Linked DNA regions of Homo sapiens: region 1 is linked to region 2. Evidence: promoter capture Hi-C in 16 types of primary human blood cells and fetal thymus (Javierre and others, 2016). All regions are on one chromosome and are shown on one strand. The core of a region is centred on a gene start or on the middle of the fragment in contact, and the rest is flanking DNA. Distances in the headings are between cores, read along the strand shown. Region 1 holds the start of ACTL9 (actin like 9). Region 2 holds the start of MYO1F (myosin IF).

Region 1 (6,593 bases), core at 1,293-3,792, 120 kb before region 2:
CCCAGGCTGGGTGCAGTGGTGTGATCTTGGCTCACTGCAGCCTCCAACTCCTGGGCTCAGGTGATCCTCCCACCTCAGCATCCCTAGTATCTCGGACTACAGATGTGAGCCACCATGCCTGGCTGTTTTGGGTGGATCTTAGATTTCACAATTTCCCAGACTCACAGTCAGCCACTGAAGTAAGTCAAAGATGTAGGCTCAACTCCTGCCTCTGTCTCATACCAGTTGTGACTTTGAACAATCACTTGACCTCTCTGAGCTTCTTTTCCATCAAAAAAATAGACATAGTACCCATTCCTAAGTCATAAAGTTGCCATAAGAAGTTGCCATGTTTTAAAATCAGAAAATGAAGAAAGGCCAGGCATGGTGGCTAATCCCTGTCATCCCAGCACTTTGGGAGGTTAAGACAGGAGGATCACTTGAGCCCAGGAGCTCAAGATCAGCCTGGGCAACATAGCAAGACCCCATTTCTACAAAAAATTAAAAACTTATCCGGAGATAGTAGCACATGCCTATAGTCCCAGCTACTTTGGAGGCTGAAGTGGGAGGATTGCTTGAGACCACGAGGTTAAGGAGGCTGCAGTGAGCAGTGATTGCACCACTACACTCCAGCCTGGACAATATAGCAAGACCCAGTCTCAAAAAAAAATTGAAAACAATAAAGTGTTATCACTTAGTGTATTTCTGGTTGTTGTGAACAGTCCAAAAAACAGACCCTCAATAAATTGCTGAGTAAATATTTCCAAAAGCATGGATTAGACCACACATACCAGTAAATCAATAATTAATTAAAATGCTCAATAAACCACACTCTGGCAGAGTAATAAATCTAGACACAACTAGAAAATTAAACCTCTTTCATTTAGATATCCCATAAGACATTCACTAGCACTATTCCTGGTGATTTCTACCACCACATGCATGAACATACACTAAGAAAAACGTTTTTATTTGCTTTAACTAACAGGTGATATCTGATATCACCAAAAACAGCCATGGTCTTGAAGCAACTCTCCTAATGCATTTTGAAGCCTGCTATTTATTGTTGAGATAATTCCTTCCTCCCAAATGCACCCTCTCCCCTTTTATCTATACTGAAACCCCTTCTTGTATCTCACTGAGCCCCTCTCCTGCCAGGAGGAAGCAGGTAACAACCCCTGGAGAGAAGGCAGACTTCCCCCATCCCTCATCTAGTTGGAGTACAGAGTAGAAATCAGGGTTGGCTTCCAGGAGGAGGTGGCATCAGACTGAGATTTGAAGAGGCAAATTCCTTCTTGGCAGGAATGGGACAGGGAGAATGATTCAGGCAGTGAATATAGCAGAGGAAGCAAAGAATCTAGGACAGGGGTGTTCCTGTCTCTCCCTGCCTCTCTCCATCCCCAACCAAGGCTGGCCTCTGTCTCCATTTGGAAACCAGGAAGCCATGCTAGCCCGCCCCACCTTCTAATTAATATTCTGAGGAGGAATATTCTAATATTCTAGGGAGGCCTGTGGCAAGCTCTCTGCCACTAGGCTGTAAATAGCTTCATGGCGAGGTACCCAGAGGAGGATTCCTGGGTCTTCCTGAAAGCGTGGCCCAAAGAGTTAGAGAAACCAATTTTGCATGTTTTTAGTGAAACCATGCCCCAAAGAAATGTTTGAGCTTGCAGAATGGCAGATCAAAAAAGAAACAACTTGCTGAAATGCCTTCCACTTATGAGGGTTTTTTGTTTGTTTCTTTGTTTGTTTGTTTGTTTGTTTTGAGATGAGTCTCGCTCTGTCATACAGGCTGGAGTGCAGTAGCATGATCTTGGCTCGCTGCAACCTCCACCTCCCGGGTTCAAGAGATTCTCCTGCCTCAGCCTCCCTAGTAGCTGGGACTACAGGCATGTGCCACCATGCCTGGCTAATTTTTTTTCTTTTATTTTCTTTTTCTTTTGAGACAGAGTCTCACTCCATCCCCCAGCCTGGAGTGCGGTGGCATGATCTTGGTTCACTTCAACCTCCACCTCCTGGGTTCAAGTGATTCTCCTGCCTCAGCCTCCCCAGTAGCTGGGACCACAGGCATGCGCCACCATGCCAGGCTAATTTTTGTATTTTTTGGTAGAGACGGGTTTCACCATGTTGGCCAGGCTGGTCTCGAACTCCTGACCTCAGGTGATCTCCCACCTCGGTCTCCCAAAGTGCTGGGATTACAGGTGTGAGCCACAGCCCCCGGCCCCAGAACTTTTCTAATAAAATTACTGCCTTAAAGCCAGCTGAGAAACAGACTTGTGCTGGATTCCTAGCTCCCAGTGGGTTGACATGCAACAAAAAGCTTGTCTTTTCTCAAAAACCAGGTGCCATCGTATTAGCTTCTAGCGCATCCGACAGAAATGTGTTAAGAGGGCCCTGCTCTGAGATGCTCATCTCCTCCTCCAAATTTGGCTCTTCAGAGAAGAGATGACAGCCTTTGGGCAGGCAGGGCTGGGCAGGGACCCATCCTCTTGGCTGCATTGTGATGTCTTAAGAAGACTGAAGGGGCACCGTGACGTCATAGATTGCGGGCCCACCCCTCCCCCTGTCTGCCTGCCCTCCCCACTGGCCGGGCCTCAACCTCTTCTCCCCGCAACCCCAACCCCAGAGGAAAAGCCCCCTCACCTGGCGTCCCGCAACCATGGATGCAAGTCGCCCCAAGTCCTCGGAATCCCAGTCCTCCCTGGAGGCCCCCAGGCCCGGCCCAAACCCCAGTCCCAACGTGGTGAACAAGCCCCTGCAGCGGGACTCCCCCGGCATGGTGGCCGACAGGCTGCCACCAAAGACCGGCGCGGTGGTTATTGACATGGGCACAGGCACCTGTAAGGTAGGTTTTGCTGGGCAGGCCAGCCCCACCTACACCGTGGCCACCATCCTGGGCTGCCAGCCCAAGAAACCCGCCACCTCGGGGCAGTCCGGGCTGCAGACGTTCATCGGCGAGGCAGCCCGCGTGCTCCCAGAGCTGACGCTGGTGCAACCCCTGCGCAGCGGCATCGTCGTGGACTGGGATGCCGCCGAGCTCATCTGGCGCCACCTGCTGGAGCACGACCTCCGAGTGGCCACCCACGACCACCCGCTGCTGTTCTCCGACCCACCCTTCAGCCCGGCCACCAACCGCGAGAAGCTAGTGGAGGTGGCCTTCGAGTCGCTGCGCTCCCCAGCCATGTACGTGGCATCGCAGTCGGTGCTGTCTGTCTACGCCCACGGTCGTGTCAGCGGGCTGGTGGTGGACACGGGACACGGGGTCACCTACACAGTGCCCGTCTTCCAGGGCTACAACCTGCTCCACGCCACGGAGCGTCTGGACCTGGCGGGCAACAACCTGACCGCCTTCCTGGCGGAGATGCTGCTCCAGGCCGGCCTGCCCCTGGGACAGCAGGACCTGGACCTAGTGGAGAACATTAAGCACCACTATTGCTACGTGGCCTCCGACTTCCAGAAGGAGCAGGCCCGGCCGGAGCAGGAGTACAAGCGGACTCTGAAGCTGCCCGATGGGCGCACGGTCACCCTGGGCAAGGAGCTGTTCCAGTGTCCGGAGCTGCTGTTCAACCCCCCAGAGGTCCCGGGGCTGTCACCCGTCGGCCTCTCCACCATGGCCAAGCAGAGTCTCCGCAAGTTGTCACTGGAGATGCGCGCGGACTTGGCCCAAAACGTGCTTCTCTGCGGTGGGTCCTCGCTCTTCACCGGCTTCGAGGGTCGCTTCCGGGCAGAGCTGCTGCGCGCTCTGCCAGCCGAGACCCACGTGGTGGTGGCTGCCCAGCCCACCAGGAATTTCTCCGTATGGATCGGGGGCTCCATCCTGGCCTCCCTGCGCGCCTTCCAGTCCTGCTGGGTCCTGCGGGAGCAGTACGAGGAACAGGGTCCCTATATCGTGTACCGCAAATGCTACTGACCAGGGCAGAGCTGGGGAGGGCGTGGGGGCAGTAAAGCCTCTGCTACAGCCGGCTCTGTCCTGTCCTTCCTCCAGGGCCTGCCCCATCCACTCCTGGGCACCTCGCCCCACAGGCTGACCTAACTCACCTCCTGTGATGCATGCCCTGAGACACCCCAATCCTGACCCCCTAAACCCACCTTCCCCATGAATAACTCCCAACAGACCACTAAGTTCTAATCCTGTCAACCCATCCTCCTGTGATCTGTGCCCCTCCCCAGGCACCCTTGGGTTGGGACACCCCCTCCCCAGACCACCTCTGACAAGTGCCCTTCCCATTTACACACTCCCAGAGATGGGGAGTTCACTACCTCAAGGCTATTGTTAGAAATATCACCTCCTCCTATGAGTCATAGATAAGCCTCCACCTGGCACCTGCCCCCAACCCCAAACATGAAGAACATGAAAGCCTCTGACCACCCACCCCATGCCCACACACACCCCTAGGGTCTGCCACATACCCAAGCCACATACCCAATTCCTTCCATTTCTAGTTTAAGTGATTCATGCATTGATCCCACATACATTCATTAATTACCCACTATGTGCCCAAGACATCCTCAAATACTGACTCCCTAATCTCACCCCATTATCTATTGCTTTTGATATAGCATCCCAAAATACCCCTGGGCTCCAAACCCTCCAAACTGCCACCCCCCTTAGTATGCTCCTCAGGGACCCCCCAACCCAGTCTCTACCCCGGAATGCTCCAACCTCCTCCCAGAATCTTCCCGTGAGTGCTCCAACCCCTGGGTGCACCCCCATAATCTTCCCCTTATTTCTAATCCCCCCAAACACACTCTTAAATTCCACTTGTCAAGATTCCACTTGTCAAGATACCCCTGGTTCTCAGCACCCCAAATCCACCTCTTCATTGGTTTCCCCTAGGATGCCCCCCACAAGTGCTGACCCCCCAGATCCATCACAGAGACCTGAATTCTGACTTTCAAGGGTTTCTCCTACAATGGTCCCACCATGGGATGCCCCTGGCATCCATCATCCCTGCAGAACTCTCCCCTCCCCTCAGGATTTTTCCCCCAGACCTCCCCTGGCCCCACCTCCACTGACCAGGTGGTCCCATCACCCATCCCCCATCCATCTTCCCAAAACACATCATTCTGAGATCCACCCCCGAAACCCCAGGGTGGACCCCTGTTGCTCTAAGACCACTTTCTTGCACTGTGTCTCCGCCCGAAATACTCCCAAATGTTCTCTCTCACAGGACACTTCCTGACCCTCTTCCTCAGCCCCCAGCTCCTCCCAGGAAAGAGCCAGCCTCCCAAATGTCATGCTCAGGTCCCCATGAGCATCCTATAACGACCCCACTAGACCCTAGGCCCTCCTCTGTGTTCCAACACCTCCCAACTCCCTCCTCCACAGACTCTCCCAAAGATACCCTCCCAGGCACCCCATGATGTGCACCCCGCCCTGGAACTCTCACAGGCTCTCCGGAACCCACTCCCCAAGACCATTCCCTGGACACCATACTATCAAGCAAGACTTGGACATCAGTGGGTAGTGATACTCTTAAGGGCTTCCCAGTCCACTGCAGTCATGGGGCAGATGCCCCAGGCAAGGAGCTTCACCTGGACACTGGCTCTCTCACTCGCCCCAGCACAGGCACCCAGGGCCCATGTGTCCCAGGCTATGCATCCCCATCTCCCTCCATTCCATTAAAAGTCCATCTCTCAGCCTGTTCCTCTCAGTCCCATGAGCTTTCTCTGGGTTGTGCACTGAGGATGCTCGAGGAGGCCTCTCCCACCCCACCCTGTCCCTGCCAGGGTCGGGAGGGGGAATCCAGCCTCTCAGGATGGCGAGCGTCCTGGGTCCCCTCTGGAGGTAGGACCCTCTGTCTTCATGCCCCCTAGCCCAGCCTGAAGGACATCCGGACCTCCAGCCAGCAGTCTGGACACAACCCCCAGTTTATCAACACAGTAGACAGGAGCTGCTGGAGGTTATCCATGTCTGTGTCAAGTCCTCTTTTTGCTCAGCCCAAGAAATCATTCATTCACTCATTCATTCATTCTTTCAGCCAGTCACTATTTAAGGAGCATCACTCACAGGATCTGTAGGCTCCTGCTGTGTCTTTCTGTGCATTGCTAACTTTTCAGGAGTTTTGTGCTCAGTTGCTGTGTTTGTTTGTTTGTTTGTTTGTTTGTTTGTTTGTTTGTTTTTGAGACAGGGTCTCGCTCTGTCACCCCATCTGGAGTGCAGCCGCATGATCATGACTCGCTGCAGCCTCAGCCTCCCCCAGCTCAGGTGATCCTCCCACCTCAGCCTCCCGAATAGCTGGGACTGCAGGTGCATGCCACCACATCTGGCTAATTTTTTGTATTTTTAGTAGAGATGGGGTTTCACCATGTTGCTCAGGCTGGTCTCCAATTCCTGGGCTCAAGCGATCCATCCACCCCTGCCTCCCAAAGTGCTGGGATTCCAGGCGTGAGCCACCACACCTGGCCTCACTTGATGTGTTTCTTTCTCCCTAAACCAGCGTGTGTGTCTCTGTCTCTACCTGCCTCTCTCTCTCTCTCTCTCTCTCTCTCTCTCTCTCTCTCTCTTCCTCTCCGTCTGACTCACCTGCAAGAACCATGCTTATGGATGGAATTTTCCAGAGTGGAAATGCATTTATCTGTGGAGCAGTGAGGCGACCTCCCCTACCCTCCAAGTC
Region 2 (6,227 bases), core at 3,324-5,823:
CTGTCGCCCAGGCTAGAGTGCAGTGGTGCCATCATAGCTCACTGCAGCCTCCACCTCCTGGGCTCAAGCGATCCTCCAGCCTCAGCCTCTTGAGTAGCTGGGACTACAGGCACATGCCACAACACCCGGCTAATTTTTCCTTTTTTTTTTTTTTGTTTTTTTGTTTTTTTGTTTTGTTTTGTGACAGAGTCTCGCTCTGTCTCCCAGGCTGGAGTACAGTGGTGCAATCGCGGCTCACTGAAACCTCTGCCTCCCGGGTTCAGGCAATTCTCCTGCCTCAGGCTGTCGAGTAGCTGGGATTACAGGCACCCGCCACCACGCCCAGCTAATTTTTATATTTTTAGTAGAGATGGGGTTTGATCACGTTGGCCAGGCTGGTTTCAAACTCCCGACCTGAAGTGATCCACCTGCCTCGGCCTCCCAAAGTGCTGAGATTACAGGCATGAGCCACCATGCCCAGCCTATTTTTTTCTTTTAATTAGTTTTTGTAGATGCAGTGCTCTCACTATGTTGCCCAGGCTGGTCTCAAACTCCTGGGCTCAAGCAGTCCTCCTGCCTTGGTCTCCCAAAGTGCTGGGATTACAGGCATGATACACTGTACCCGGCCCTTTTCTCATTACTAATGTGTCTGTGTTGGCCCCCAACCCTACACTCTCTCTCTTAAATCCTCAAAACAGCCTAGTGACATCGGTGCTATTATAAGCCCCCTTTGATAGTTGAGGAAACTAAGGCACAGAAGTCAGGCGTGGTTTGCTCACACCTGTAGTCCCAACTACTTAGGAGGCTGAGGTGAGAGGATCACTTGAGCTCAAGAGGTGGAGACCAGCCTGGTCAACATAGCAAGATAACATCTGTAAAAAAAAAAAAAAAAAAAAAAAAAAAAAGTAAATTTAAAAAGAAAGAAACCAAGGCACAGAAAGTCACTGGCCAGGAAGCACTGCAGGTCGTGTGTGCAGCCCTGCGGGGAGGGCAGCTGAGACCTGATTTTTCCTTCCTTCTCCCGTCCCCGCAGAGTGCAAGGATGTGAACAAGGTCGCCTACTGCCCCCTGGTGCTCAAATTTCAGTTCTGCAGCCGAGCCTACTTCCGCCAGATGTGCTGCAAAACCTGCCATGGCCACTAGGGGGCGCGCGGCACCCGGAGCCACAGCTGGCGGGGTCTCCGCCGCCAGCCCTGCAGCGGGCCGGCCAGAGGGGGCCCCGGGGGGGCGGGAACTGGGAGGGAAGGGTGAGACGGAGCCGGAAGTTATTTATTGGGAACCCCTGCAGGGCCCTGGCTGGGGGGATGGAGAGGGGCTGGCTATCCCCCCAGAGCCCCTCTTCAGCATCCGCCCCTTCCAGTTCACATAGTGAGACCCCCCCTCCAGGGTGGGTCTGGGGAGGGGACAGCTGTTCACCCCAGCACCCTTTGAACCCACCCTTAGGGAGTCCCCAACACTCCCCCCCTCCTTTGATCGGAATATGTACTGTGAAGAGTAGGGGTGGGGAGGTGGTCTGCCGGTGCCCTGCCCCCCAGCACTGCCCTACCCCTCCACTCCGAGCTGGGGGGGAATCTGTGTCTGCTATGGGAGGGGGGGGGGTAGCACCACCTCCCTGACACCCTCCCCTGACCTGACTAGGGGGAGGATCCACCCCAACCTCTGCCCTGCCCGCCCCAGGGGCACCCCGACATCCAGGCCACCCCCTCATGGTGCTACAGACCCTGCCCTGGGGCCCACACACTCCTGCCAGGAAGCCCTACATCAATAAAGTTCTGTCTTGTGTAGATTTCTACGAATTGCGGTGTGTGTGTGTCAGTGCATCCAGTAGCCCCCACCCAGGTCTGGAAAGGACCACCCATTCTCCCAGGTCTACCCAACAGCCAAAAGGGGACTTCTTTTTTTTTTTTCCTGAGACGGTCCCTGTCGCCCAGCTATGCCTATCATAGCTCACTGCAGCCTTGATCTCCTGGACTCAAGTGATCCTCCCACTTCCACCTTCTGAATAGCTGGGACTACAGGCGTGCACGACCACACCCAGCTGATTTATTTATTTTTTTTTTTTATTTTTTTTTTTTTTTGAGACGGAGTCTTGCACTGTTGCCCAGGCTGGAGTGCAGTGGCACGATCTCGGCTCACTGCAAGCTCCGCCTCCTGGGTTCATGCCATTCTCGCCTCAGCCTCCCGAGTAGCTGGCACTACAGGCGCCCGCCAACATGCCCAGCTAATTTTTTGTACTTTTTTAGTAGAGACGGGGTTTCACCGTGTTAGCCAGGATGGTCTCGATCTCCTGACCTCGTGATCTGCCCGCCTCGGCCTCCCAGAGTGCTGGGATTACAGGCATGGGCCACCGTGCCCAGCCAGAAGGGGACTTTTAACATTGCAGACAGGAACCCAGGGATTTTAGGAGAAAAGTACAACAGCTTCTCGTGGAAGGGTTTTGCTTTTTTGTTTTTGTTTTTTGAGACAGGGTCTCACTCTGTAGCCCAGGCTGGAGTTCAGTGGCACGATCTCAGCTCACTGCAGCCTTGAACTCCTGGGCTTAAACGATTCTCCTGCCTACCCTGCCAAGTAACTGAGATTATAGGTGCAACAGCACACCTAGCTGATTTTTTAATTTTTTGTAGAGACGAGGTCTTGCTATGTTGCCCAAGCTGGTCTGGAACTCCTGGGCTCAAGCGATCCTCCCACCTCAGCCTCCCAAAGTTCTGGGATTACAGGCATCAGCCACCATGCCTGGCCCTCACAGAGGCTCTTAAAGCCACACGGTCTAGCACCTGCCACCCTGGCCATCACACTCTCCGTCACTCCGCATGCTCCAGCCACACCAGCCTCCCCGAACTTCCTCAATTGCCCTATGGTTTTCCCATATCTGGGCCTTTGCTTGAGCGCTTAGCATGGCCAGGTGCACGCTCCTGCCCCTTTACCTTTTTTAACTCCAGCTTACTCGCCGGTGTCAGCACAAACGTTGCCTCTTCCTAGAAGCCTCCCCTGATGGCCCCCAACAAAGTGGGGTCCTCTTACCCATTCATATTCACTCTTGAGTGCCTGGAGACATTGCTGAGAATTGCATGCCCCAAGCCCGTCAATTCTGCAAACTCGCTCAGGAGATTCCAGCAGAGACGGGCTCCTTCCCAGCTGTGGCCACTAGGGGCGCTGCATATTAACATCTTCAAGGGGGATGCGGGTTTATCGCCCTGGACCAAAGATAGATCTGAACATGGGTCCCCCAGGGTCTCCCAGGGTCGGGTCCTGCCTCGGCCACCTCCTTGCTGGGTGGTGTGGGGAAGTAACAACCTATTAGAACTGCCATTTCCTCACATGTCAAGAGGAGCCTCAGGTGGTTGGCTGGTGTCCCAAAGACCAGCTCATAGGCTGACACGTACCTGGGCCAGGCTCTGCTGGGGGGACCCACGTTCCCATTTTACAATGAGAAAAGGGAGTAACTAAGTCATCCAGGAAGTAGCCAAACTGGAGGCTGTTAAATCTAGATGTGACATCCAAAGTCAGGGACCTTTCAGATGCACCTGCTTCCCAGTACCCTCCACTTCTGCACACAAACACGTGTGACTTCTGAGGGTCATCTAAAGAGGGAGGTTGGGCCAGGCGTGGTGGCTTATGCCTGTAATCCCAGCACTTTGGGAGGCCGAGTTGGGAGGATCACCTGAGGTCAGGAGTTCAAGGCCGGCCTGGCCAACATGGCGAAATTCCGTCTCTACTAAAAATACAAATATTAGCCAGGTGTGGCGGTGGGCACCTGTAATCCCAGCTACTCAGGAGGCTGAGGCAGGAGAATCGCTTGAACCCAGGAGGCGGAGATTAAAGTAAGCTGAGATTGCACCACTGCATTCTAGCCTGGGTGACAGAGCTAGACTCCGTCTCAAAATAATAACAATAATAATAATGAAGGAGGTTGCCCAGGGATGCCCAGAGCAGACACAGCTGAAGAAGGCACCCTTCCCTGTTGTTGTTGTTTTTTTGGTTTTTTTGTTTTTTCTGGTTTGTTTTTAGAGACAGGGTCTCACTCTTTCGCCCAGGCTGGAGTGCAGTGGCGCAATCAGGGCTCACTGAGGCCTCCACCTCCCAGGTTCAAGCAATCCTCCCACCTCAGCCCTCTGAGTAGCTGGGACTGCAGGCTCATGCCACCATGCCCAGCTAATTTTTTTTCTTTTCATTTTTTGTAGAGATGGGGTCATGCTATATAGCCCAGGCTGGTCTCAAACTCCTGGACTCAAGCGATCCTCCAACCTTGGCCCCCCAAAGTATTGGGATTACAGGCGTGAGCCACCTCCCCTGGGCCCCTTCCTTGGTTTTAAAAAGAGACCCGGGAAGCCCAAATGCTTCCTGAATCGCCCTGAAAAGAGGTGGTTCGTCCTGCAGCCAGCTGACCCAAATGTTCCTGCAGCAGCCCTGTCCCCAAGGAGTTGGGGAAGAGGCCTCTGAGGTCCAGTAGTGGCTGCCATCAAGTTCTGACCCCTCCCTTCAGGCTCAGAGCCCCAAACAGCCAGCTCCCCGCCCCCCTCCACACCCAGCTTCCCTCCCCCATGGCCTCGGCCCCTCCCGCCAAAGGAAGTGAGAAGGGGCTGTTGTAAGAGGAACTAAAGCCGGGAGTCCGGTGAACGGGCAGAAGCAGGGCCATGCCCAAGCCACCCCCAAGATCCCCCTGAACCTGCACCTCCATCACGACCCATTCAGGAGCCTCCAGGAGCCCAGACACCAGCCCCCCACCATGGTAAGTCCTTCAAGGGTGGGATCTGGAAGAAGAAAGAGGAGGGACACCAGCCAGGTGGAGGTGTCCTAAAAATGACCATCAGAAATTGGGGTGAGGGGAGGGGCATGGTGGACTTCTGTGGGGGTGGGGTGTCTCTCAGTGCAGCTCAGGTGCCTCCAGCATCCCTTACCAGGGAGCAAGCTCCCATCTGTAGGTGGTGGGGATGCCAGGGTGGTATCCCTGGATCCAAGGATAGGGCAGGACCTGGAAGACAGAAGGTGGCCCAGGGAGAATCACAGAGTCTGCAGGGACAAGGACATAGCCTCCTTTGCTTGCAAATTAAGGGAGCCCTTTCCCAGTCCAGCCCAGTCTCTCGTCTCCCTGTGTAGCCTTGGGCTAGTCACTTCCCCTCTCTTGGCCCCGGTTCCCACAGATGTCATATTTGGAAATCCGTCTAGATGCGGAAGTTGCTCTTCAGGGGTCTTTCAGTTGCAACATTCTCAAGGTCTGTGGGTTCTGCCACAGAGTCCTCGGCTGAGATGGGAAGCTATGTCTAACAAGCGATGGGGTGGATTGACGCCCTCCCTGTGCCGGTGACGGGCGGTATGGCTGCAGCAGAGGCAGGAGAGGCTGAATACGTCCATGCCACCCTTTGGTGGGCATCCCTTATCCCAAGAGGAGGATGGCAGCCAGAGGTGTTGCTGCCTGTCAAGTCTGAGGTCTGTCGATGATAGCAACGGGGAGACTGTCGTGATCATGGCGCTATTCCTAGCAGTATCGTACCACCATAAGACGCAAAGTAAGAGGTGGCCAGGGCTGACCCCACCCCACAGCTCTCTGCTGTGTAGACCACTTCAGCTTTCATTTCTCGTCATTCAGTCAGTGAGGATGAGAGCATGTGGCTGTGACAGCGGCCACTGCAGGATTCTTGGCAGGTACAGCTTACTAGGGTGGAGTCAGGGACATAGGGCAAGAGGCAGAGGTGGTGTTAGTCTGAGAGACAACACCTTCTTTCAGGAAGCCAGTGAGGGCCAGGGACAGTGGCTCATGCCTGTAATCCCAGCATTTTAGGAGGCTGAGACAGGTAGATCACTTGAGGTCAGGTGTTCGAGACCAGCCTGGCCAACGTGGTGAAACCTCGTCTCTACTAAAAAATACAAAAAATTAACTGGGCGTGGTGGCACACGCCTGTAATCCCAGCTACATATGAGGCTGAGGCAAGAGAATAACTTGAACCCAGGAGGCGGAGGGTGCAGTGAGCTGAGATCCTGCCGCTGCACTCCAGCCTGGGTGACAGAGCACACTCCGTCTCAAAAAAGGAAAGCTGATGAGAAATTGGGCATCCCGGAATTCACACCCAAACCATCAGCTGGAGCTCTGAGACTGTTGGGGTGGGAATTCTTCCAAGATGAGAAGCAAGCCAGGGAGGCTCAGGTCCTGGGATGGGCAGGGCTTTGATCAAAAGAACACAGGAAGTGATTTGCTACTTGAAAGAAAGGCAACCCCTCCCCAAGGAAGCCCTCTGAAAATGCTTAGTCAA

The links. The method cuts DNA at HindIII sites, captures the fragments that hold promoters and counts their contacts. A CHiCAGO score of 5 or more calls a contact.
Region 1: the fragment with the promoter of ACTL9 here is called in contact with the fragment with the promoter of MYO1F in region 2 in 1 of 17 cell types (monocytes); the score reaches 5.6 in monocytes.

The regions. Positions count from the first base shown.
Region 1 is chr19:8,694,744-8,701,336 of GRCh38, reverse strand. ACTL9 (actin like 9) reads left to right here and starts at 2,542. Exons shown (of 1, transcript NM_178525.5): 1 at 2,542-3,937. The coding sequence starts at 2,636. The coding sequence ends at 3,886. The HindIII fragment of the contact is 13,278 bases long and covers 2,299-6,593 here.
Region 2 is chr19:8,575,788-8,582,014 of GRCh38, reverse strand. It overlaps MYO1F (myosin IF), which reads left to right and starts at 4,573. Exons shown (of 28, transcript NM_012335.4): 1 at 4,573-4,708. The coding sequence starts at 4,706. ADAMTS10 (ADAM metallopeptidase with thrombospondin type 1 motif 10) reads left to right here. Exons shown (of 26, transcript NM_030957.4): 26 at 1,013-1,775. The coding sequence ends at 1,122. RefSeq lists silencers at 1,186-1,235, 3,047-3,241, 4,462-4,611, 5,149-5,198 and enhancers at 5,319-5,498, 5,669-5,728, 6,069-6,128. The HindIII fragment of the contact is 24,150 bases long and covers 1-6,227 here.